Regions from separate parts of the Homo sapiens genome. Here regions 1, 2, 3, 4, 5 and 7 are each linked to region 6. The links are contacts of gene promoters, found by promoter capture Hi-C in blood cells and fetal thymus (Javierre and others, 2016). All regions are on one chromosome and are shown on one strand. The core of a region is centred on a gene start or on the middle of the fragment in contact, and the rest is flanking DNA. Distances in the headings are between cores, read along the strand shown. Region 1 overlaps HPS1 (HPS1 biogenesis of lysosomal organelles complex 3 subunit 1). Region 2 holds the start of PYROXD2 (pyridine nucleotide-disulphide oxidoreductase domain 2). Region 3 holds the start of AVPI1 (arginine vasopressin induced 1). Region 4 holds the start of SLF2 (SMC5/6 complex localization factor 2). Region 5 overlaps R3HCC1L (R3H domain and coiled-coil containing 1 like). Region 6 holds the start of SLC25A28-DT (SLC25A28 divergent transcript). Region 7 holds the start of ZFYVE27 (zinc finger FYVE-type containing 27).

Evidence for each region. The method cuts DNA at HindIII sites, captures the fragments that hold promoters and counts their contacts. A CHiCAGO score of 5 or more calls a contact.
Region 1: a contact is called between a fragment that was not itself captured here and the fragment with the promoter of SLC25A28-DT in region 6, in 4 of 17 cell types (activated CD4 T cells, non-activated CD4 T cells, total CD8 T cells and 1 more). The highest score is 8.8, in activated CD4 T cells.
Region 2: a contact is called between the fragment with the promoter of PYROXD2 here and the fragment with the promoter of SLC25A28-DT in region 6, in 4 of 17 cell types (naive CD8 T cells, non-activated CD4 T cells, total CD8 T cells and 1 more). The highest score is 12.4, in naive CD8 T cells.
Region 3: a contact is called between a fragment that was not itself captured here and the fragment with the promoter of SLC25A28-DT in region 6, in 5 of 17 cell types (fetal thymus, total B cells, non-activated CD4 T cells and 2 more). The highest score is 6.7, in fetal thymus.
Region 4: a contact is called between the fragment with the promoter of SLF2 here and the fragment with the promoter of SLC25A28-DT in region 6, in 1 of 17 cell types (fetal thymus). The highest score is 6.1, in fetal thymus.
Region 5: a contact is called between a fragment that was not itself captured here and the fragment with the promoter of SLC25A28-DT in region 6, in 3 of 17 cell types (total CD4 T cells, fetal thymus and naive CD4 T cells). The highest score is 7.9, in total CD4 T cells.
Region 7: the fragment with the promoter of ZFYVE27 here is called in contact with the fragment with the promoter of SLC25A28-DT in region 6 in 2 of 17 cell types (non-activated CD4 T cells and naive CD4 T cells); the score reaches 6.4 in non-activated CD4 T cells.

Annotation. Positions count from the first base shown.
Region 1 is chr10:98,439,180-98,442,469 of GRCh38, reverse strand. The region is part of intron 3 of HPS1 (HPS1 biogenesis of lysosomal organelles complex 3 subunit 1); the gene reads left to right. Among named protein-coding and RNA genes, the nearest start is that of HPS1-AS1, 5.5 kb to the left of the region's middle. The HindIII fragment of the contact is 2,948 bases long and covers 52-2,999 here.
Region 2 is chr10:98,413,282-98,416,604 of GRCh38, reverse strand. PYROXD2 (pyridine nucleotide-disulphide oxidoreductase domain 2) reads left to right here and starts at 1,423. Exons shown (of 16, transcript NM_032709.3): 1 at 1,423-1,596. The coding sequence starts at 1,470. HPS1 (HPS1 biogenesis of lysosomal organelles complex 3 subunit 1) reads left to right here. Exons shown (of 20, transcript NM_000195.5): 20 at 1-407. The HindIII fragment of the contact is 3,850 bases long and covers 1-3,323 here.
Region 3 is chr10:97,686,164-97,689,778 of GRCh38, reverse strand. It overlaps AVPI1 (arginine vasopressin induced 1), which reads left to right and starts at 2,538. Exons shown (of 3, transcript NM_021732.3): 1 at 2,538-3,013. RefSeq lists enhancers at 1,494-2,447, 1,515-2,714, 2,448-3,401 and a silencer at 2,172-2,551. The HindIII fragment of the contact is 688 bases long and covers 1,726-2,413 here.
Region 4 is chr10:100,911,211-100,914,484 of GRCh38, reverse strand. SLF2 (SMC5/6 complex localization factor 2) reads right to left here and starts at 1,522. Exons shown (of 20, transcript NM_018121.4): 1 at 1,235-1,522. The coding sequence starts at 1,374. RefSeq lists enhancers at 1,373-1,422, 1,443-1,512 and a silencer at 1,733-2,002. The HindIII fragment of the contact is 2,989 bases long and covers 1-2,631 here.
Region 5 is chr10:98,137,511-98,140,864 of GRCh38, reverse strand. The region is part of intron 1 of R3HCC1L (R3H domain and coiled-coil containing 1 like); the gene reads right to left. Among named protein-coding and RNA genes, the nearest start is that of R3HCC1L, 4.5 kb to the right of the region's middle. The HindIII fragment of the contact is 209 bases long and covers 1,280-1,488 here.
Region 6 is chr10:99,618,903-99,622,543 of GRCh38, reverse strand. SLC25A28-DT (SLC25A28 divergent transcript) reads right to left here and starts at 1,699. Exons shown (of 1, transcript NR_186534.1): 1 at 626-1,699. SLC25A28 (solute carrier family 25 member 28) reads left to right here and starts at 2,105. Exons shown (of 4, transcript NM_031212.4): 1 at 2,105-2,499. The coding sequence starts at 2,209. RefSeq lists enhancers at 549-1,130, 1,131-1,713, 2,297-2,879 and silencers at 1,365-1,524, 2,255-2,414. The HindIII fragment of the contact is 4,603 bases long and covers 1-1,913 here.
Region 7 is chr10:97,734,881-97,738,400 of GRCh38, reverse strand. ZFYVE27 (zinc finger FYVE-type containing 27) reads right to left here and starts at 1,273. Exons shown (of 13, transcript NM_001385875.1): 1 at 1,080-1,273. RefSeq lists a silencer at 1,008-1,077 and an enhancer at 1,408-1,557. The HindIII fragment of the contact is 3,622 bases long and covers 1-1,943 here.

The DNA of each region.
Region 1 (3,290 bases), core at 276-2,775, 1.2 Mb after region 6:
GATTAACATACCATAAATTGCACATATTTAAAGTGCATAATTTGATAAGCTTTGATATGTATATACCTATGATTCTATCACAATCAATAAAAGGAATATATCTACCACCTCAAACATTTGTAATCCCTTCTTTCCCATCCCCATCGCATAGGAACTGCTGATCTGCTTTCTGTCATGATAGATTAGTTTGTATCATATGGCCTTATATAAATGGAGTCATACAGTATGTGCTTGGATTTAGTTTGGTTTTGGTTTGACTGCTTTCACTCAGCATAATTATTTTGTGATTCATCTGTGTTGTGGCATGTATCAATCGTTCATTCCTTGTCATTGAGTAGTAATCTATTGTATCAGGATGCCACCATTTGTTCATTCATTTACTTGTTGATGGACATCTGTGTTATTTTCAGTTTTTGACTATTACAAATAAAGCAACTATGAACATGCACGTACAAGTCTATGTATACATGGATGCTTTCATGTCCAAGGACAGATACTTAGGATAGACTGGCTAGGTCATGTAGGTGTATGTGTAACTTTTTAATAAACTGCCAAACTTTTCCAAAGTGGTTGTGTAATTTTTGATTCCACCTGTAGTGTTTGAGAGTTCAGTTCCTCCATATCCTCACCAACACTATAGTCCGTCTTTTTAATTTTAGCCATTCTAATAGATGTTCACTAGAATCTCACTGTGTTTTAAATTTCATTTCCTTAATGACTAATGCTTTTGAGCATCTTTTCATGTGCTTATTTGCCATATCTTTTGCCCAGTTTTTATTTGAGTTGATTGTTTCTTCTTCTTATTCTTACTGAGTTTTGAGAGCTTCTAATATATTTTGGATGGAATCCTTTATCAGATACATGTTTTACAAATATTTTCTTTCAGTTTGTGGCTTGTGTTTGTATTCTCAATGGTATCTTTCAAAGAGCAGAAGTATTAGAACTCGAGTTTATCCATTTTGCATTTATGGATTATGCTTTTAGTGTTATATCTAAGAAATCTTTGCCCAACTTACAAAGAGTTTTCTCTACATATTCTTTTGAAAGTTTTATAGTTTTAGGTTTTATATCAGGTCTGATGATCTACTTTGAATTTTTGTGTGTGGTATGAGCTATGGATTGAAGATAATTTTTTTTTTGCATGTGGACATCCAGTTCAACAGTTTAACATTACAACTCAGAAATACTTGTCATTTTCACTTACATAATTTCCACTCTACATTTTAAAGGAGTAATTTATTTTGAAAATGTTTTCCAGATTAATTTTGGGTTAAAAATATTTTTACTGGGGATGCAGTGGAAGGTGTTCTTACATTTCTGCAGCATGGGCTGATTGCCTCTCTGTCCCTTTCTGCTCTAAGGGGTCTCATCATCCAGCCAATGAGTGAGCTGACTCCACCTCAGGGAGTCCATTTACCATCAACATCACTCGTGTTCTCATCACAGTCTTTAGGCAAACACAAGATATCAGAGATCATAGACATTCAAGTGGTTTTATTTAAGCTAACTGTTAGGCTTTTTTATTTTTTAACAGTCAATACATATAATATTTAAATTAAGAATTTTTAAATATTTCAGTTTTTAAACTACTGTTACAACTATGTCAACTTAAGAAGCAAACTATTTGGTGGCCTTTCTCTTCCTCTTTATTGAAAACCTGGCAAAGGAACGAACTCCTGAATTTTCAGTTCCTAAAAATGAGTAGTGTAAAGGAAAGGTGGTCTTTAAAGTTTTTTTTTTTTGTTAATGTGCAACACATTCTTTTCTCATCATATAAATAATGAGTTAATTGTAGGAAATTTGGAAATACAAAGAGATAGTTTTTAAATGACCTATAATTCCATGACCCAGAGCTATTAGCTTTTTAATATACTTTCTTTGGGTCTTTATTTTTTCTATATAATTGGGATTATACCACATTTACAGTTTTACTGCCTGTTTTTTTTTCCACTTGCCATTATATCAAGATATTTCTTCTATTTTTTTAAATAGTCTCAGAAGCATAATTCTTAATGGAAACATTGTACTCCAGTACATGAATCAGTGTATCATCCTTTATTTAACCATTTTCCTCATATGGACATAAATATTGCTCCTAATTTGCTATATCACTCTTGCTTTAAGAAACATTTGTGCTTAAATTTTATCTCATGTCAGATAAATTCCTAGGATAAATTTAGGATAAATTCCTAAAAATAAAAATGTTGAGTCAAAAGCCATTCAAAGATATTGTACTACTTTATAATTCCGCCAAGTAATATATGAGTATGCTCCTTTATATACACCAAATATTTTTATCTCCCCTGTATTAGTCCATTTTCTTACCACTATAAAGAAATGCCCAAGACTGGGTACTCTGTAAAGGAAAGAAGTTTAATTGACTCACAGTTCAGAAGGCTGTGGAGGCCTCAGGAAACTTACAATCATGTCAAAAGGCAAAGGGGAAGCAAGACACCTTCTTCACAAGGCAGCAGGAAGGAGAAGTGCTGAGTGAAGGGGAAAGAGCCTCTTATAAAACCATTAGATCTCATGAGAACTCACTGTCACAAGAACAGCATGGGGGAAACTGCTCCCATGATTCAATTACCTCCACCTGGTTTCTCCGTTGACATATGAGGATTGTGGGGATTATGGGGATTACAATTCAAGATGAGATTTGGATGGGGACACAAAGCCTAATCATATCATTCTGCCCCAGGACCCTCCCAAATCTCATGTCCCTTTTACATTTCAAAACCAATCATGCCTTCCCAACAGTTCCCCAAAGTCATAATTCATTCCAGCATTAACCAAAAAGTCCAAGACTGAAGTCTCACCTGAGACAAGGCAAGTCCCTTCCACCTATGACCCTGTAAAATAAAAAACAAGTTACTTCCAAGACACAATGGGGGTATAGGCATTGGGTAAATGTTCCCATTCCAAATGGGAGAAATTGGAACTATGGGGCTACAGGACCCATGCAAGTCCAAAATCCAGTGGGGCAGTCAAATCTTAAAGCTTTGAAATGATCTCCTTTGACTCTATCCACGTCCAGGTCACACTGATACAAGAGGTGGGCTCCCAAGGCCTTGGGCAGCCCTACCCCTGTGCTTCTGCAGGGCACAGTCCTCTTCCCAGCTGTTTTCACAGGCTGGTGTTGAGTGTCTGCGGCTTTTCCAGGTGCATGGTGCAAGCTGTCGGTGGATCTACCATTCTGGGGGCTAGAGGATGATGGCCCTATTCTTACAGCTCCACTAGGCAATGCCCCAGTGGGGACTCTGTGTGGAGGTGTCTGACCCCACATTCCCTTA
Region 2 (3,323 bases), core at 174-2,673, 1.2 Mb after region 6:
GGAGCCTCGCCTTCTGTGTCTTTAGTCTTGAGCCAAAATTTGCTCAAAGACTGATCTCTTCCTTGCAGGGAACAGCTTTGGGGCTGGGGGAACTAGAACCCACATGTTGGTCTAAACCCTGAGAAGGTGGCAGTGAGGAAGTATCCCCTCAGGTGACTGGATCTGTGTTCCTCCTTAACATCATCTGATGGAATGGCAATGAAAAGCGTGGATTGTGGAAAATACAGAAAAACATAAAGGAAAAAACTCCAATCCCCTGAGCCCACCACTGTTCAGGACCCCTGCTTTTGTCACCTACTATTTCCCTTTAGTTTTTAGCAGCGGCTGGATGTGATATGTCTAGTTTAACCAGTCCCCTTGATCTTTCTATATAATAAATAACACAGGAGTGAACATCCTGAATCAGATCTTAGCAGAGATGCTCACATGCGGGGTAACTGTCCATGGTGTGTGGAGGGGTCCTCGGAACCCCCTCTTAGGATCATCTCCACATACTCTCCCAGTTCTGAGATTCGTTACCAATAGCAGGTTTCCGTCACACTGCGATATCAGAGCAGTGCAGGAACTCTCCGCTCCAAGGGGTTTTTTCCTCCTAGGGGAACACTCTGCTAAGTAATGGGCAGAGAACAAAGGGGCTCCTAATTCAAGGCAGGCCTAAGGGAGGGTCAGAAAGAACTTTAGCTGGAGGTATTTACAGATGTGACCTCGAATCCTTGGGGATTCTTGGAAAATGGGCAAGGTGCCAAAAGAGGAGAACTGGCCAGGCCTTCAAAACTAAAACACCAGAGAATTACAGACAGCGAACTTGCCCCTAAGCCCTCGTTGTGGGTTTGTGTTTGAGCATTTAGGAGAGGACTCCAGTGCTCCTCAGCGACAGACACAGCTGCCTCTGCGGTGTCTGAAGGCCCTGGTCGTGGTGACGCTAGATGGCCGCCCTGGGCGCCTCCTGTGGGCGTAGAGGCATCACCACTCTGCACTGGCAGACTCAGCATGGAGTTGGAGCAGAGTCTGACACGAGCACTTGCCATCCCAGGCGTTTCAGTTCTGACTGAGAAGGTAGATGCACAGGGGAGGAGAGGGCCCTTTCGAGCTCCACTCTGCCTCCACCACTCATTCCCTAACCCCGCAGCCTCAGCGCCCTCATCTGTAAAATGGGGAGTTTTGCCTACAGGGTTCAGCACAATGCCAGCCTGACATAGGAACCCCAGTGGATTGTCAGTTTTGCCATTATCCCCTGCATCCTGGAGGTGACACCGCCTGGTTAATAGGCAACACTCCCGACGGCCCAGCACAGCCCCAGGGCAGCAGGAGGCTGGCCTGTGGCCAAGAATGCATGGTGGAGGGGGCCTGGAGGGGGACTGCAGCTCCTCCTCTTCCTGCTTCCTCCCTGCTCCACCCCGTGCCTAGGGCAGCACAAAAGCCAATCGCTAGCAAACTCCCTGCCTAGCAAGGCCCAGCCTGGGGCAGAAATGGCTGCAAGTGGCCGAGGTCTCTGCAAGGCTGTGGCCGCCTCTCCCTTCCCGGCGTGGAGACGAGATAACACGGAAGCCAGGGGAGGTCTGAAGCCTGAGTATGATGCGGTGGTGATAGGAGCAGGTAAAGTGGTAAAGCAGGCCGGGCCAGAGCTGAGGGGCGGGAAGACAGCCCTGCTCAGAGCTTGGTGGGGAGGGGGAGGGGGAGCCAAGCCCCACTGCTCTCTCCTCTGGCATAACCCAGCCAGAAGTTTATACGCTAGCAGGGGCTGCAATGGAAAGCCCTTCCATCTGGCAGGCAGGCACCTGGGATTCCGGTGCTGGCTCTGCTGTGTGGCCTGGGGCAAATGCTTGCCTTCTCTGGGCTTGGATCTTCCCATGGAGAATGACAGGAAGACTAGGTGAGCTCAGGGGTTTCCCTATATCTCTTGCAAAGTGACCTAGTTTCCACCACATTCTCAGCCTATGGTTTGTAAGGGTTGGAAAGAGCCCTGGGCCAACAGACAAGTGAAATCCAGCACCCCGCCCCCTCAGTGCCCTGAGTTCTGGTCACCACTACCTTACCACTGAGGCCACCCCTCGTCACAAGAAACTGCAGTCATTTCATAAAGGCCAGTTAGGATAAAACAGAACTGAGTCCCAGAGTTCCTACTGCGTGTCTGCAGAGGGAGATGGACCCCATTGCCTTGCAGCTCTGGGACATTTGGGGATCTGCAGTGATCTGCCACACTTTGCCAACCCCTGGGCTCAGAGTATCACAGTCTACTGGGTGCTAGGGGAAGAGGCAGGCCCAGGACCAGGTGGTCTTTCCTTAGTGCCTTCCTTTCACACTTGCAGAGGGCCCCAAATGCATGATTGCCAACTGGGTCTATACAGAGATAATGACGGGACCGAAAGCAGACGGCACTCAACATGCAGCTTTGAGGGCATGCCTTCATTTTCATATGTACTAGAGCAGTTGCGAGCTGGTAGATACTCAACACTCACCTCTCCAGGGAAAAATGTGTGATGTATGTGTGTGTGTACATGTATATATATGTATATATACACACATATATGTGTATATATATGTATATGTGTTACGTACATATATATACACATATACACATGCTTATTTTAAATATTGAAATAAAAGATACACTGCACACAATTTTACAAATAAAGATACAATACTCTCAATTTAAATGCAGTCTACCCGAGTGATTCTTACCAAAGGCTTTCTTTGATTTTTGCCAAACTCAGTAGCCAACCTATAGTTGCAAATGACAAATGAGGGTAGCTCCAAAGAGAACGGTGCTCCATATTTTCTGTAAAGAGTAGGATGATCGTGAAACAAATGAAACAACAAAGATTTATGTCCCAACCTTACTCCTTTATTTTTTAAAATTTATTTTTATTTTATTTATTTATTCATTTATTGAGATGGAGTCTTGCTCTGTTGCCCAGGCTGGAGTGCAGCGGCGCAATCTCGGCTCACTGCAACCTCCGCCTCCTGGGTTCAAGCGATTCTCTTGCCTCAGCCTCCCGAGTAGCTGGGACTACAGGCGCCCACCACCACGCCCGGCTAATTTTTGTATTTTTAGTAGAGACGGGGTTTCACCATGTTGGCGAGGCTGATCTCAAACTCCTGGCCTTGTGATCCACCTGCCTCAGCCTCCCAAAGGGCTGGGATTACAGGTGTGAGCCACTGCGCCCGGCCTCCTTCTTTAAATGACAGGAATGATGTTACTCAAATAAGATAATATTGTTCTAATACTAGAATATTTCCTTCAATTTTTGTGCTATTTATTCATGCTATAACAGCTAACACTGTTAGGTTTAATCTGCATTATTAGCATTTTCCCATCACTT
Region 3 (3,615 bases), core at 820-3,319, 1.9 Mb after region 6:
AGCCAGAAACCACAAGTTCCCAATTCCTACCTCGGGATGCTCATCTAAGCTCATGGCATCAGAGTTCCTAGGTTCACCCAGCACTGATATGCCAAGAGTCTGGCTTCCCCATTGGTTAGAATGGGCCAGTGGGAGTCACTGGCTCAGAAGCTCAGCCTTTGGTTTAGGAGCCTGCACAGTCCCCTCCTTAGCAAAGTAGTTGGCTGAAAGTCTCTGCACCAATACTTTCCACTGGAGACGAACATCGCTGATTTCTTTGTTCTTTTCAACAGTTCCCCAGGGCTTGAGGAAAAGTGAAGAGAAGCCACTGTAAAAACCTTTTTAACGGGCCGGGCGCTGTGGCTCACGCCTGTAATCCCAGCACTTTGGGAGGCTGAGGCCGGAGGATCACGAGGTCAATTGATCGAGACCATCCTGGCCAACATGGTGAAACCCCATCTCTACTAAAAATACAAAAATTAGCCGGGCATGGTGGCCTGCACGTATAATCCCAGCTACTCGGGAGGCTGAGGCAGGAGAATCGCTTGAACCCGGGAGGCAGAGGTTGCGGTGAGCCGAGATCGTGCCACTGCATTCCAGCCTGACGACAGAGTGCGCCTCCGTCTCAAAAAAAGCAAACAAACAAACAAAAAAACCTTTTAGCGGCCGGGCATGGTGGCTTACGCCTGTAATCCCAGCACTTTGGGAGGCCGAGGCAGGTGGATTACCTGAGGTCAGGAGTTCAAGACCGGTCTGGCCAACATGGTGAAACTGCATCTCTACTAAAAAATACAAAAATTAGCCAGGTGTGGTGGTACGTGCCTGTAGTCTCAGCTACTCGGGAGGCTAAGGCAGGAGAATCGCTTGAACCCAGGGGGCAGAAGATGCAGTGAACTGAGATGGTGCCACTGCACACCAGCTTGGGCAACAGAGTGAGACTCTGTCTCAAAAATACAAAACAAAAAACCCTTTTAGCCACAGCACAACAACACTTACGCTGTTTTTGTGCAGAAGGACAGAGAGAGGAACTGGAGATCATGGGGTGAGGACAAATAGCTCCCAAGCATCCCCTTCACGCTGCAACAAGGAATTCACAAAGCCCCATGTGCTGGCTCTTCCCCTTCCCACCCACAACTTTTACAGAAGAAAAATCAAGCTTAAATGGATAAGAGGTCAGCTATGAAGTAAAAAGGAAGTCAGGGAGACCCAGGAGCCTTTCCTGAGCATTGCTGAACAAGTGCACAAACACTTCATCTTCCAAGGACAAAACAAGCATTTATCAGAGGCCTACTGGACACCCTGCCTCCACTCCTGCCCCCTCCAATCCAAGTTCCAAACTGCAGCCAGAGTGACCTTCTAAAAACACAAACTTGTCATGATGATGAAATTTGCAAAGTGCTGACTGACACTACTGGTACGTGGTAAGTACTATAAAATGCCCGTTACATAAACACAGTACATATAATGCCATTCCTTGTTTAAACCCCTCCAAGGATCACATGCAACCTTCTCTGCCTGCCTCTGCCTTCTACTTCCCACCGTGCTCTCTCTTGCTAGCCTTACTCCGGGTCGCATTTAATTCCTCCGGAGCCAAGCTACCTCCTGGCCCAACCAAATGCCTTTCCCTCTTTCCTTAAAGCAGTCTCCCCAGATCCACTCCTCTTCATTTGACCAGTTTCAACTCCTTCTTTATATCTCAGCTTAAATGCTGCTTCTTCAGCCCTCCTGAACCTCCCAGAGGAAGCTTAGGTTCCTCCATATTTATCCTCTTATAGCCATAACATTGATCACAACTGTAATCACATACTCCATGTTTTAGGTTGTTTAATGCCTGCCTCCCTTACTAGGCTGTAGACTCCCCAGGACAAGGGCTATAGGTCTTTCCGTCTCTCTTGTTTACGGCCTATCAAGGAACTCGGACAGCATAGGTCACTAATGAACATTTCCGAATGCATACAAACTTTAAAATACGGTCTTGTTTAGGTAACCGGCCCAAAGTCGCACAAATGACCCAATATTTGAACCCACGACATTCTGGCTTTGAAGCCCAAGGTCTGACTCCAGCAGACTGCCCCCTCCTCTCCCTCAAAGCCGGAGCCAAACGGTGGGCTGGGAGGGGACTTGAGCGGCAGAGTCTGAGGATCTGCAGAGGGCCACGCGCTGCAAGGCAGTCAGTGCCGCGCGCGCTGGCCTCGGGCCCAGGAGAAGGGGCATCCGTCACGTGTACCCGGCAGGGCCAGCTTTCGCCGCACCCTGGGGCAGGAATGCAGCCCCGCCCAGCTCCCGCGCCAGCAAAACCGCGCTGGCCCTGGGGACTGACGTCAATGAAGGGGGCGCCTCGGGCGCCGCGCGGGGGCGGAGAGGGCGGTGGGCAGGGCCCGGGCAGACACGCCCCCTCACCGCCGCTCCGCCGCCGATTAGGTTTGAGGAAGCTTCGCACTCCGCTTTCGAGGCCAGCGGAGGCGGGGGGCGGGGATGGACACGCCCCCTCCCTGTCTCCCACCGATGATTGGCGCACGGAACTCCGCCTTGGGTTTGGAAGGCTCGCCTGGGAGCTCATACCTGGCTAGGGCCGAGGATTGGCTGTTCCGGGGCTAGGGAGCGCTTTCTCCCGGGAACCGCGGCTGTGACCCAAGTGGCCCGGACCAGTTTGGGGCTGCGTGCGGCCTGCCTCAAGCAACCAGGTACGTAGGTCGGCGGCCCAGCTCGGCGCTGCGGTGGGAGCCGGAGGGCGACAGTCAGAGCCGGGGTGCCAGCGGGACGCGACCGCCAGATCCACTTAGGACCCCGTCGTTCTGCGAAGCGGCCACGTCTGAGTCCCGGGGCCTCCTCGTGCTGCAGATGTCGCCTTAGGACCTCGGCCAGGATACCCTCTGCCATGCTCTTGTGCTGCCCGTGATCACCGACTGGCCCTTGTAAGCACCTTCGCAGAGCTGCGCCTGCCCTTTCTGAAGGCTGTGGAAGAGGTTGGAGTGGGCGCATCTTAGCTTGCCCCATCCCCATTTGAGGTCTGTCGGAGCTGCCCTTCAGTGTGGTGAGTACCTGCTCCAATTCTCCACCGGGCAGTGGAGTGCAGAGGGTACAGAGGCTAGCTTGGGAGTCCTGACTTTGGATCCCTCCCTGCTCCTTCCACAATCTACAGAAGCAGATAGCCTCCGAAAGGCTTCTGGGACCGACCTTCCCCAGAAGACCTCCTCAGCCATCTGGCAGGAACAAAAATAACAGTGGCTTGAGAGCCCGGGTGCTGGGGTCAGACTGCCTGGGTTCATGTCCCAGCTTCCATCACCTGCCAGCTGTGTGACTTTGGGTGTAGCTTTCTCATCTGTAAAATGGGTATAACAATAGTGCCACCTTAAGTGAGGAGGAAAGAAAGCACCCATCTGAACGTGCTCTGTTCTGCGCTTGACACTGAACAAGCTGCCTCTATGATTTTAATCATAAAGCTATGATTTAAAAGTACACAGATTTGTTGATGGCTGTGATGATGAAAATGACAATGATTCTATAGCCCCTGGTAGTCAAACAGCCTTTCCCTTCATCATTTATTCATTCAACCAGCATGCATAGAATGTCTGTGGTATACCAGGTACTAGAAGGAATGCCGTCACAAACTTAATCTCCCTTTTCCTGTTAAGA
Region 4 (3,274 bases), core at 273-2,772, 1.3 Mb before region 6:
GACCTCAGACTCCTTTTTGATTAATACACCAGAAAGAGAAAAAATGATTTTGGGTAAAACATACAAGAAACCTGTAAAATAACCATGAATGTAACTTTCAAGAGGTAGGTTCTCTAAGTTCATATGCACACAAAATGTCCACTGCTTATTTAACAACTGGCTTAAAAAAAAACACACACACACACACAATTATAACAGTTTCACAAACCCTTATCTGAACCTTCTGGGGCCAAATGTGTTTTAGAATTCTGAATTTATCAGATTTTAGGAAGGGGATAACTTGGATGTATTATGGAAAGTCCCCAGTGGGGTCTGGTGCTGCAACCTGTAATCAAATCCACTGACATTTCTCCAGCAAAACATGAATATTCACACTTAATGGGATAAAGACCACAAACAGCCTTACATTAGTTTTAGTCAGATCTGGCTGCCCAGTAAGATGTGGTGCCAAACTTACTGAAAACGTTTTGGTTTTCATAGCTTTCTGGCTTTCAGAGTTAAGATAAGGGATTGTGGGCCTGTACCACAGTATTAGTAACATGAATATTGTTAAAACTTAATACAATTTAACTTAAAATAAAAGACAGTACCAAGTTCGTAGGGAATTTAAACATGTTTTATTGTCAGAGGATGTCATTAGATGAAACTCCCCATCTCATTACATAGCTCCCACAAAATCTTTACAAAAAAATTAGCCTCTTGGAGAGGCGTGAAGTTACTGAAAGAGAAAACACGTCACATTCCAAATCTGCAAGTTCTTTTAAGTATGAACTAGCGTGCACGCTGGACTACAAAGTAATTCGTGGAAGGGATTCCCTCATCACAGGTTACATAATTTCACCCACAACATAGAAAAGGTTTATATTACTAAACCACTAGGATCAGTAGAACTGACAACGTACAGAAAACGATCTAAATATGCATTAAGCAGTTAGGGTCCCGGGTCAAACTCTTGCAAAGGAAAAAAATCACTTTCTTTCTACCTAAGGCGGGTTCTCCGTAGCTGTCCAGGCTGGTGGTCACTAGACCAAGAGCAGCTGCCCAACTACAGAGAAGCAAACTCCAACTCCCAGTAGCCCCTGCGCGGAGGCGGGGCGGGGATTTGCCAGGCCCCGAAATGCCAACGCCTGAGCTCGCGGAGGATGGCGGGAACTGGAAGAGCGGCGGTCTGCAGCCCTCCCCTCATACCCTTGCCCCCGCGACCCGGCCCCTTCTCAAGCCCTCTGCACGGTACCTGTCCCCAGGACTCTCTGTTCTCTTTCCCGCTGCAGCATGGGCGGTACTACCGGGTCTCAGATGGCAGCGCGGGGGCGACGACCCCGGGGCTGGGGATGAGGGGAAACCTGGCCTAGCGGGCATGCAGCGCCTTGTCATGTCGGCGCCGCTGGCGACGGCGGCATGAGCCGTGGCTGGAGAAGTTGGGTGCGTGGTTGCCGTCTTGCTGCTGGGACTCCGGGAGGCTGTCGGAGCAGAGGTGGGCGGCACCCCCTTCTCTCTTCATGGCGGTTCTCTCTTCGGAAGTGACTCCGGCGTGAGCGGGAAGGAACCTGGGGACCAGTAAGGGGCGGGTCTTACTTCATGAATCACGTCTTGATTGGCTGGCACGGTGGTCATTTCGGTGGTGGCGCAATAGGAAGCCGCAGCCTCTCTGGAGAAGGCGGGGCTTGGGGACGGGGGAGGAAGAAACCTCCCCCTCCCACCCCGTCACATGCACTGAGGGCGCGCGCCTCTGGTCCCGGCCGCCTCGGCCTTGGCCGGCGCGCGGGGGCGGAAAGGCGCGGGCAGCAGCTGGCGGACAGCTGACGACACCCGCCTGGTTGAAGGCGAGGGGTGAGGGTTTGCTGAAGCAAACCGGAGCCCGGCAGCTGCCTTCGTTGAGGATGGCCAACACTTGGGCTTCCTGTGTCACACAATTGTGCCTCAGAAATCCGCAGCTGTTCATTACATCGTCTCTTTAACAGCTTAGGCCAAAGTGCCATAATACTGTCACAATTTGCTGAGGGATCTGCACAGCGCGATCCGAAGACTTGTCCATTCTACGACGGTTCTTGTTGAGTGTCAGCGGTAGATTATTTTTTTGTCTTTAAGAAGAAGAAAAAACCCCCAAAAAACTCCATTGGAATAAAGACAGTTGTTAATCCACAAAAGCATTTTGTTTCTCATGAGTTACCATGAAGTCTCTGCAGCCGACTTCCTTGGAGATTTTTTAAAGGAACACAAGGTCAGCTTTCAGTTTTCCATGTTAAGCGTGGGCAGCATAGATAAGTAAAAGCTGCCTGCAATCTCCAACCCTCCTTTGTAAAGGGCTTGTGCTCTGGAGGCTGTTAGCCATGGTTTTCCTTATAAACCGAGAGACTGGTCAGTATCTCTGAACCTCAGCCTCCACATCTGTAAAACGGGCATTTTACTCACTTTTCTGGGTAATTGTAAACCATAAAAGGATAAAACAGTGTACACTGCACAGTTCAGATTCTCTCATGTAACAGGTACAGAGCAAATTATAGTTCCCTTTCTTCCCCAGATAGATTCCTACAGCGAATTTTACTTCTTTACAAAATCTTCCAGAGACAGGTCAAATACTGTTGCAATAACTGTTAACAACCAAAATATCAATTTCAAGATGTCCAAGCTTTAATTGACAGAGTTATTTAATCAGTTGGATGGAAAAAAATCTTAAATGATATAAAATAATTTGGACGGGTCTTTCAAGTTTATTGTATAGAAATTGAACTATTGGCCTGATACAGTTGCTCACATCTATAATCCCAGCAGTTTGGGAGGCCAAGGCAGGTGGATAGCTTGAGCCCGGGAGTTGGAGACTAGCCTGGGCAACATAGCAAGACCCTGTCTCAAAAATAAATTAATTAATTAAAATTTAGAAAAAACGAAATTGAACTGTTCTGGTCACTAAGCATGCCTGACTGACTCCAAGTTCACCTCCTTTTCCCTTCCCCTTTAGTCCCCGGGAGGAAGAATTAATAAGGAATAAAGTGGACAAAAAGCTGGCAAAGTAGAGGGTCGAAGGTAAACAGTGAATATACAGGTTTCACATTCACCCCAAAAGCACATATGTACAGCTGTATACTAGCTAATGGTGGCGGAAGAAGGGAAGTGCCAAAATAGAGGGTACTTTTCTGCTCCTAATAGCGGAGAATTTACTATACGTAACATTGTTTTTTACATAAAAAAACATGATACTCAAAATGTGTTGAATGACTTACACATTTGCATTTTACATGTATTATTTCCTATCTCTTAGTGCTTTCTGTTGGAT
Region 5 (3,354 bases), core at 135-2,634, 1.5 Mb after region 6:
TTTAAAAATGTGTTTAAACTACACTGAGAGGTCACGTAAGTAGTTAACAGGTAATACATAAATTGACTTGATATTTGCATGCTGAATATGCAAAATAAACTTAGTATTTAAGGAAAAATGTTAGTGTAATAAAAATTTCATGTTACTTGATTTACTATTAATATCTGTTTATTTTCCCTTTCCTAGCCAACTATAAATATTTACATGTTCTTCTCAAATAACAGACAAAAATCCAATAAGCTCTCCATCTTACTCATGACATTCACTCTTTCTGTCTCCCTCCCTGTATCTGTCTGTCCCTCATTTCTAACTCTGCCCGTCTGTCTACATCTCTGATTACCCTGCTTTCTAACTCTGCCTAGGTGACTGTCCCTCTCTGTTTTTGACTTCTCTGTCTCTGACTGACCCTCCTCTCTCTCTGCCTATTGCATGTGTCTCTATGACTCTGTGTGTAGGTGTCTTTGAGCTCCTCTCTTGGATTCTGCCTTTCCGTCTCTCCCCCAGTTATCCACCTCATTTTTAATACATCCTTGCTGTTTACTTTTCCTTTTAATATTTATAAACAAGCAGAGTTGGTTTTATTAACCCTATTTTAAAGACAAGAAAACAGAAACAGGACGACTGGCATACAATTTGAGAAATCAGGATGTAAATCCAACTGCTTCCCTTCTTTCTTTAATAGTCTTCTGGCATTCCATGGCAAAGAACTTGAAACAGCACAACTGCAAGCCAATATGAACACTACAGGCATTCAGATTCTTTTCTAAGAGACAAATGTGATATTAAGGAGTGCTACACACCTTTTGCCCACATTATTCACTCTGCACAGGTTAAATGGTCATGAACTGTCAGCCATTTGCCTATCCCAGAAATCCGTATCCTCATGTTCAGTTTGACCCATGTTATTTGGAAACCTCACGATACTAGATACTAGAATCTGTTTTCCAACAGTGCTTCTCTGCTTCTGTTTTTATCCCTAGTCCCAATCCAGCTATATCTGGCATTAAAAAAAAAGATACAAGAAGGACAACAAATATTAATAAAACTGAAGGGTGAATTTGAAGAATGAAAAACTATACAGAAGGCTAGCATGAGACAGTGAAAAATGGACACCACAGACTCGAAGCAATTGGTCCATGTTTTATTAAGAGAAAAGAAAATTCTCTCCAAATGCAGGCTTACTGCTGCTAAGTAACACCCTATAACTTTTCCTCTATCTAATGCTTTGACAACTGGAATTTCTCTGTAATTCAATAAGCTCTTAGGAGTTCCCCAAGCTTCATCCATCCTGCTGGGCTCATTACTGGATAATTCTAAATGTTTTCTGCACTAGCGAAGAGCACATTTCCTCGTGGGTAGCACAACAGAAGGAGGGTACTCTTTCAAGGCATGAATAGCCTAGCTCCATTTCTTCTCACTTCTCCTATAGGTGAGAAGTCTACAACAAATATAATTCAACAACTAAAAGAAATGTCTAAATTATAAGCTTAGGTTACTGGGGTTGTCAAAGATCATCCTACAGGTCACGAGTTTTATACATAGTGTGACGGCTAATCATATATTTATATAAGCTAATGAAAAATCTATACTTTTGCTTCTGGCACTAGTTCATTTACTTATGTCTAATGAGTTGCATTAGGGCCAAATAAAAAATATACCAGTCTTTTCATTCATTCTGGTGAGATATTTGTGAATAGTTAGCTTATGGAGCTAATGAGGACAAGGTCACAGACTCAAACTCCATGCTGGCCAATTAGCTTTGCTGTGTGTTTCTAGGTTCCATGGTCACAGTCAACAACCTTAACCTTGGCTAAGAAACACACTGATCATTGAAGCATTAGGGGAATGAATATAGATGTATCAACAAAATCCATACCTTTCAGAAAAAAAATAAAAATTAAAAATAGTAATAACAACACCACCCCAATCTTTAATATTATACTAAACCTGGCTAATATGTGCCTCATTCGAATAATCTTTAATCTTCTCAACCATGCAGGGTTAGTCTAATCTGTCTTCCAGATGATGAGAAACTGAATTCAGAATGATCATATGAACCAAAGTTACATCTAGTGAGCCTGGATTCAGACCTTGGTCTGTCTTGACTCCAAAGCATAGGTTATTGCCACAATGCTACATGGCCTCTCCAGAGTGCACCTCAGTGACCTAGGACAATCAACAAAATGTTCCTATTCAGAACTATTCAGCACACTCATTACTGAGCATCCACTATACATACTCACACACTATAGATGAGAATTAGCATACCTTCCAAAAATTCCTTTTAAGTAAAAAACAGTCAAGGAACAAAAGTGTTTAATTGATTTTTTTTTTTTAATAAAGATGAAGTCTCACTTTGTTGCCCAGGCTGGTCTTGAACTCTTGGCCTCAAATGAGCCTACCTCAGAGGATCTCAAAATGCTGAAAGTACAAGAGTGAGCTACCAGGCCCAGCCAAAAGTGTTTAAGATTAAAACATAAAGGAAAAATTAACACATTATAGCATACAAAGTAGATTTTAATGGAAGTGACTTTCTATTGTCATAGCTTTGTATACAAGTCTGGTGTGAAAAAATAGTTATCTTGCTGATTCATAACTAAAGGTAAGAAAGAAGCTGGCAAAACATAGCACAGGCATACCACATCAAAAAAGAGAGTAAAGGAAACATTTCCTAAGCATCTGAATCTGCAGATATCTGGTAGTCAACATGGCACTTGAAGGAAGTAAAAAATATATACTTCAATTCTAAACTCCAAGACTTTGCCTTGACCAACAAACCATTTTTCTCTATAAGGCTTTCCTCCTTGGTTTTTCTCAACTCTCACTCCCTGCAGATACATACATACCAATGCCATCATTAGCATCAGTCACTAAGAAATGCCATCTTGAAAAAATGAAGGTCACCAAGTCTCCCAGACCCTATCCAATAAGCTTAAATTTTAAAGTCTAATAGTCTGGCTTAAAAAAAATAAAAATAAAAATAAGGCAGGAAGACAAAACTGTTCCATAAACGTCTATCCTAGTCAATATCTGAGTCATAAAGATAGATAATTGCTCTGCTACAAGCTACAATGTACAGAATTGCATTCTTACTACAGGTTGTAAATGAAGCACCAGTTCAATTTCAACAAACTAGGTACAAAGCAACATTTGGAATCTCTAGAAAAACAGAAACACAGCAAAGCCCAATAACCTTGCACAACAGCATTTTAGGAACCTCTAAAGTTGAAAAAAAATCTAATATAATTTTTATATAAAATGCAATTGCTAAAAAACAAACTGCAATCTGACAACTTCTATTTACAGTATTTTTTAAAGTTTGTGAATTAAGGATGACTATCCTCATTTTACAGA
Region 6 (3,641 bases), core at 450-2,949:
TAAAAGAGTGAAAAATGTAAAGAGCTTAAGGAGAGAAAGGACATAGAGGTGGATAGGTCATTAGTGGAGTAATCTGGCAGTAAAGGGAATTAGTACTCTAGCAGGATTGAATGGGTTTTTGTGAGACCTATTCATTTCTCAAGCTAAATATGCTAGAGAAAAGGAGAGACTGAACATGCTGTGGGGGAGAAGTTCCTTTTAAAAAAATTTTTTTGAGACAAAGTCTTGCTTTGTCACCCAGGCTGGAGTGTAGTGGCATGAACACGGCTCACTGCAGCTTCGACCTCCCTGGCGCAAGCAATCCTCCCCCAAGTAGCTGAGACTACAGGTGCACACCACCATACCCAGCTAATTTTTGAATTTTTGTACTTTTTTGTATTTATTATTTTGTAGAGACGGGGTTTTGCCATGTTGTCCAGGCTGGTCTCGAACTCCTGAGCTCAATAAATCGTCCCACCTCGGCCTTCACAGTGTTGGGGTCACAGGCATGAGCCACTGCGCCGGCCAGGGAGAGGTTAACCAGGTTAATGGACCCCTAGGGTGTCCACATGGCACCTTCAGGGACTCTGAAACGCAGAAATGATATGCAAAATTTTGAGTGCACACAGGGGATGGGAGGTGGAAGTAGGAGAAGAGAATTCGTAGTTTTATTATTTTCCAAACGGTCGCGACCTAAAGGTTAATAACAACTGCTGAAGAGAGTAGAAAAAGTTTTTAAAAAGGAAGCCCAGAGAAGAGCTAAACTTTAGAAAGAAAAAAGGAAAACATCTTTCCTATCCAAGGAAAACCTATGAACAGATGGAGAAGTCCACAGTTGCATCATCTGGGTAAAACAGAGAAGACAGAGCTGGAAACCGCGGGCAGCTTGTGCCAACACGCTCGGGGAAGGCAAATGGAAGAAGACGCCCGTGCTCCCTAGAGCAGGAGGTCCTAAGGCCGGGAATCGCTGGCCTTGCCTCTCAGGACCCGGGCTGACCCGAGGGAGGGAGAAGCCCTCATCGCCAGGCGGGGGACCCATCAGCGCGCCGGCTCAGGGACAAAATACTGATGCTTCAGACTCGGCCAGGCCGTGCGTCCGAGCTTCCCCACAGCCGCCGCACTTCCCTGCTGCCTTTGGGATGCGGCCTCCAGCCCCGCCTCGCCACCGGCCGTCATCTGTGAATCATCCCGCCCATTTCGACATCTTCCTCCCCCGCCTTCGGCTCTTGGCCTGGCGCAGAGCCCAGTGACAGCCGGGGCCCGGGGAACCTCATTCATTCAACACTTGTTGGGTTTACTCTGCGAATGTGGATGCGAGGCTCAGTGCCGGGCGCTGGGGCCTGAGGAGCACCGAGTCCGGCCAGAGGGCCCAATACTCCAGACCCGACCAGAGTCTAGCGGGCCGCCGCGGTCCCCCCTGGAGGTGAGGCGGTTCCCAGCCCGCATGTCGCAACGGCTTCCCGGACAGGCTGCGGGTCGCGCCAGCCAGGGATGACCGGCCCAGGCCGGCCCCGCCTCACGCCCGCGACGAGATCCCGCGGGAACACGGCTCTCCGGGGCCAGGGCCGCCCGCTCTCCAGCCACGCGTCTCAGAATTTGAGGAGCGCACGGGAGCGCGGGTCGTAACGGCGCCCGTCAGCAGTTTGACGTTGAAGGCCTGTCGCCGCCCCGCCCCCGACGCGATCCCGCGCACAGGGACCGCAGCTCTGCAGGCGCTAGTGAGGGGCCCGAAGTCGGCCCCTAGAGTCCCTGGGCGCGTCGCTCTTTCTGTAGCCAATCGGGGACCGACGTGGTGCGGGCCAATGGCCGCGGTCAAAGTATCAAGAGTGGTTGAGCCTATCAAAGTTCAGCCTTAAGTTTCTCCCGCCCTTCTAAAAGTCAGAGGCGGGTTGATCGCACATGTCGGCCAATCAGTGACCAATAAACAAGAAGCTTCTAAGATCAAAGGGGAAAAGGTGGGATGTAGGCGCTAGCAACGCCTCAGGGCGGAGGAATGACAGGCGACTTCGCTAATACTACCGGCTGATTTTTCGTACGTAAGGAAAGGGGTGGGTCTAACTTGGCGTCTCCACCAATGGTTGCTTGGGGGGCGTGTCCGCGGGGCCAAGCGGGAGCCGGAGGCCCCGGGCTCTCTGGGCCGCGCCTGAGGCGGACACTACGGGGCCGGGGGGCGGCGGCGGCAGTGGTGGCAGCGGCGGCGGGGGTGGGCGCCGCAGCTGGCCCGGGTGGATGGAGTTGGAGGGGCGGGGTGCTGGCGGTGTGGCGGGGGGGCCGGCGGCAGGGCCCGGGCGGAGCCCCGGGGAGTCGGCGCTGCTGGACGGGTGGCTGCAGCGGGGCGTGGGCCGGGGGGCCGGCGGCGGGGAGGCCGGGGCCTGCAGGCCCCCGGTACGACAAGATCCGGACTCCGGCCCGGACTACGAGGCGCTGCCGGCTGGAGCCACTGTCACCACGCACATGGTGGCAGGCGCCGTGGCAGGGATCCTGGAGCACTGCGTGATGTACCCCATCGACTGCGTCAAGGTGAGACCTGCACCCGGCTTCGAACCCGACCTGGGGCTGACCCGACCCCTGGGTCTTGTCCGGAGCCAGGATCCCGGCTGAGAGCCGGAGCCGACATGGGTTCCTTCCTGGCTCCTGCCACTACCACATGATTCGAACCGACACTCCATTCAAGCAAGGTCCCAGCTGGGAGTTGATCCCAGTCAGGAACCAGGACCTATTTCTAACCGTCAGTGAAATCTGAATCGGGACTCAGGATCGAAAATCTGTCAGCCAAAGCCCTGGACCCCACCTGGGACTAAACAGGAATAGGGTGGGATGGGGTATCCCGAAGCTCAGGTAAGTGCTACTAACTCGATTAAGGTGAAGCCAACTGGCGTGAACCAGACCCTGAAATGGATCTAACGGCTTGAGATGTTTTCTGGGCTAGTGCTTTTACAAACTCCTTGCTGTATCTTCCCTTACTGACGGGGCAGGAACCCGAATCTGGGATCTCTCAGCTAGATAAAGGACTTACATGTTAAATCTTAACACATGAGTGATTGGAAATCATTGTGCAGTGAGAATGCAGAATTCCAGACTGGAAGTAATGTGGGAAAGATCGTATTCAGGAATAGGTTTCAGTTTCTCTGTGAAGCAAGCATGATACCCCACCTATTTCCTGAACATGAAAATTGAGCTGGGATTAGGACTGTATGTTCAGGGAGCACATCAGCCTCCAAACAAGAGAGATGAAACTGATAGCATATTTCTTTGGCCACCTGAAGTTGGCAAAAAGGGAGAAGTTGCCTAGAAAGGAAGTGTGACGGTATTAGAAAGTAGATGTAAGTATGAAGAAAATGGAAAGAGATCAACAAGAGGACACGATTCTTGTGAAAGTAAAACTAATTGCATTCACAACCAAGCAGGATGATTTATGTGTACTGAAGTCAGGTCCTTCTGAAGAAAGCTGGGTGAAGAAAGAAACAGATTATTGTTCTTTACAGTTCTTATTCTTGTACATTAGTAAAGGTGCCAGCCATTAAAGGTGAGGACTGAATTGAGGGAGAGGTAAACTAGAGGGGACTGTTGATATGACAAAGACCGATGCCTCCTTTACATGTGAAGGGTAATAGTCAAACAGTGACCTGGCAGCTTTTTGATGTATGTTTTCTCTTCAAATC
Region 7 (3,520 bases), core at 24-2,523, 1.9 Mb after region 6:
TGCCAACAGTAAACCTGTGAGCAAGGGAAAGTGAACTATTCAGACCTAAAATCCTGTTCTTTGTACTCTCCATCCAATGCTCTTTTCCCCAAAGATCCATCAAAACTAAAAATCATAAAAACCAAGCATAAATGATCGCTGCAGCGAGGCAGCCCATGGGCTGAAATGAAATGATGTCCTGGAACATTTTTCTCCCACTCTTTACCTGGTTAATTCCTACTCATCCTTCAGGTATCAGCTTAAACATCACTCCCTTACTCTGGGAAGTCTCTGCCAACACCCCCAACTCTGGACTGGGAGACCCTCTCCGATGCTCCCAAAGGATCACGTACTCACCCTAACAGAGCACTTATCACATCACATCGCTTCTTGGCCTTGTGGCTAAGATCAAGTGCAGAGCACTGACCACGTCAAAGTAAAACTCCCTGCTCTTAACTGGCCTCCATTCACGACTGCTTCTGTACACAGTGGGTGCTTAACAAATGCCTGCTGAATGAGTGAATGAAATACCGTGCTCCAGGACTCTCGCCCGATCCTCTAACTCTTCCCACTCCCTTCGGTTCCCAACAACTTCCTGGGCCATCTCTGCCCCAGGGCAGTCGGCATCAGAACGCCCCATTCCCGTCTGCCCTTTCTGATGAGGAAACCGAGGAGCCTTTACGGTCTTTCCCAGTTCAAAGTCCTATCCTGAACTCTAAGCAGCAAACGAGGGGGCGGAACCTCGGCGAAGAGCAACATAAACCAGTCCCAGGCAATCAGCCGCGACCTGATGGGAGGGTGAGGGGATGGGACAAAGGGGCCAACGGGACCCCGAAATCCCCGCAGGCCGAGCCAAGGCGAAAGGGCACAGAGCGGCGCCAGGTATGAGCCCAGGAAGGGGCGAGGTATATCGACGCCCGCACTGGCCTTGGCCAACACCTCTGCAGCCAGGGGGGCCTGATGGAGCCCGTGAGGCTGGACAGGGAAGGCCATGCCCGAGGTCGTGGGGCCAGCATGTGGCGGCCCCCGCTGCGCCCAAGCACCCAACTACACACAGCCTGCGGAGACACTGGGACGCGGGGGGACGGCACCTCACCTACCCGGCCGCTGGCTCCGTGAGGGAGGCGGCAGGGTCGGGCAGGAGCAGGGGTAGAGCCACTGGGCCCCGGAGCGTTTCTTCAGGCCTCCCCCGGCTGAACGCCGCTCCTCCTGCCAGGGTTGTTCGGAAGTCGCAGGTCCGAAAATCTCCTCCGCCTACGCCGCGGCCGCCACCGCCGCTTCCGGGACGCGAATCGCTCTGCGGCTGCGTCCTCATGACGTCATCCCGCTCCGGGTTTAGCTCCGCCCACCCCAGCACAGGCAAGCACCCTTGCCAGCAGTGCGCCTGCGCGTCTTTCCCGCGCGCTCCAGGCTGGAGTTAATTCTGTCCTTGGCCGGCCGCCGTTCACAAAGCCTTGAGGACCCTTGGAAGCACGTGCTTGGCGACCCTGCAGCTCGTTGCCCTGCCTTGCCGCAGGGAACAGTTGGCGAGAGGCTTAAATGAAGAATTTACGTCTTCATCCTCTTTCCTTCCAACTTTGGAACTGAACTGGGGACTGTGTGTGAGCCCCGGAAAGACACCGTATCCTGTATGAGATGCCCAGCAGAGCATGCAGTTGTTTCCGGAGTAGCTAGTGTGTACAAGGTCCTGTGCAGGCCTCTCCCAGCTCAGTTCACTTCACACCGTGTGGCCCAGTTAATTTCCCTTAAAGCACACATCCGATGGCTTTATATTAGTGACTTAGCGCTCAGGTACAGAGGAGCCAAGCACTGAACCGGACTGAGCTCTTTTTAGACATTATCTAGTTCTCCTCCAACGACCCTATTAGGGTTGTCGCCATTTTACAGATGGGGAATCTCAGACGTGTTAAGGAACTTCTTTAGAGTCACAGCTAAGAAGCAAATGGGAGCTGGAATTTGAAGCTTATGTGTCATCTGACCCCAACGCCCCAACCATACCACCACCCACCTTGGTCTGCATTTCCTGGTCTTGTCTCCTGCCATCTTTCAGCTGCCTTTAACTTTGGCCAACTGAACCCCTCCACTGTTACCCTCAAATGCCCCTGGCACTCAAATGTCTGTATCCCTTCCTTGAGTGCCCCAGCTGGAAGTAATCACTTCCCTCTTCAAGTAGCCACAGAGCTTTAACTGCATCTCTTCCTCCATTATCTCCTTTCAGAAAGACAGGCCCATCCCTCCAGCCAGGACTTAGCTGTGCTCCAGGGTCCAACTCTTATTTCCTTAGGGCTTTGCTCTAACAGGCCTGAAATCTTGACTCTCGCTAACTCTTAATCATCATTCTAGAGACAAAATTCATGGAAAATTTCTCCTTTAGCCTAACTTTACCCCCTCTTTCCTACATGAGTTGGAAGACTCACTGTGAAGTGCTCTCTACCGCTGCTTCCTCGCCCAATTCACTCCTCACTGCACTGTGGTCCTGCTCCCCTCCATATTTCTGGGCTACCTGCCTGCTCACCTGTGACATCCTGGCTGCTAAATCCAATGGACACTTCCCAGTCCTCCTTGCAGATGACCTCAGAAGCACTGGAATCTCTTTCCTTTTTGGCACCATTGTCCACCTTAGCTTCCATGACACCACCCTCTCCTCTCTTTCCGACCTTCAAGGTCTCCTTAGGGCTTTTCTTCCTACCCCTCAAATGCTGGGGCTCCTTTTGCTACCCTTCTTTCTTCTGACTCAAGGCACTCCGTGAGGATCTCATTCACTCTTGTGGCTTCTGTCAGCTAATGTTTCGTTTCCCGTGTCTATGTCTCCAGCACCTAAAGCAGTACCTGGCACATAGTAGGCATTCTGTTAAGAAGGGTTGCAAGATGTTACCATTGGGGGGTAGTCTGTGGGATCACCCTGTGTTAGTTCTTATAACTATGTATAAATTGACGATTGTCCCAAAAGTAAATGCTTACCCTGTGTAGGTATTTTTCTCAAAGCTCCCTGCTTTAGTTGACTTTGTCAATTACCCGGCATGCGCCAGTCCCAACATAAGTAAGGTAGGAGGGCTTCTCCTCAGATGAATTGCTTGGTTGGTTTTTCCAGCTGTAAAATGGGGATAACCATAGTGGTACCCTCAGTGTGGGGCTGTGATGAGAATTAAATGAGCTAAAGTATGTAAATTCCTGACATGTTATAAGTGTTCAAAAATCGTTAGCAATCATTGTGATTTTTATTTTTACTCAAAGCCCTACCACCACCACCCCTAGCCCAAAAATCAGACAAGAATCCACGAAAGGCCAAAATGTAGAAAGATCCAATTCCCACACATATCACTAAGCCATATACAGAAATCCACTCACCACCCCTTAGAGAAATGGACTGAGCTTTGTGGTGGTCCAGGCCCATCTGCTGGACTCTGCCTCTCCTCCCTTAGGATGGGTCTTTTCCCCGAAAGCTCCTGGGTCTGTCATGCAGATAGCCTCTGAAGGCCCCTCTTCTTCGTTTCCTAACCTGGCCTCAGGTCTGAATTCCAGGATAGGCCATCGCCACTCC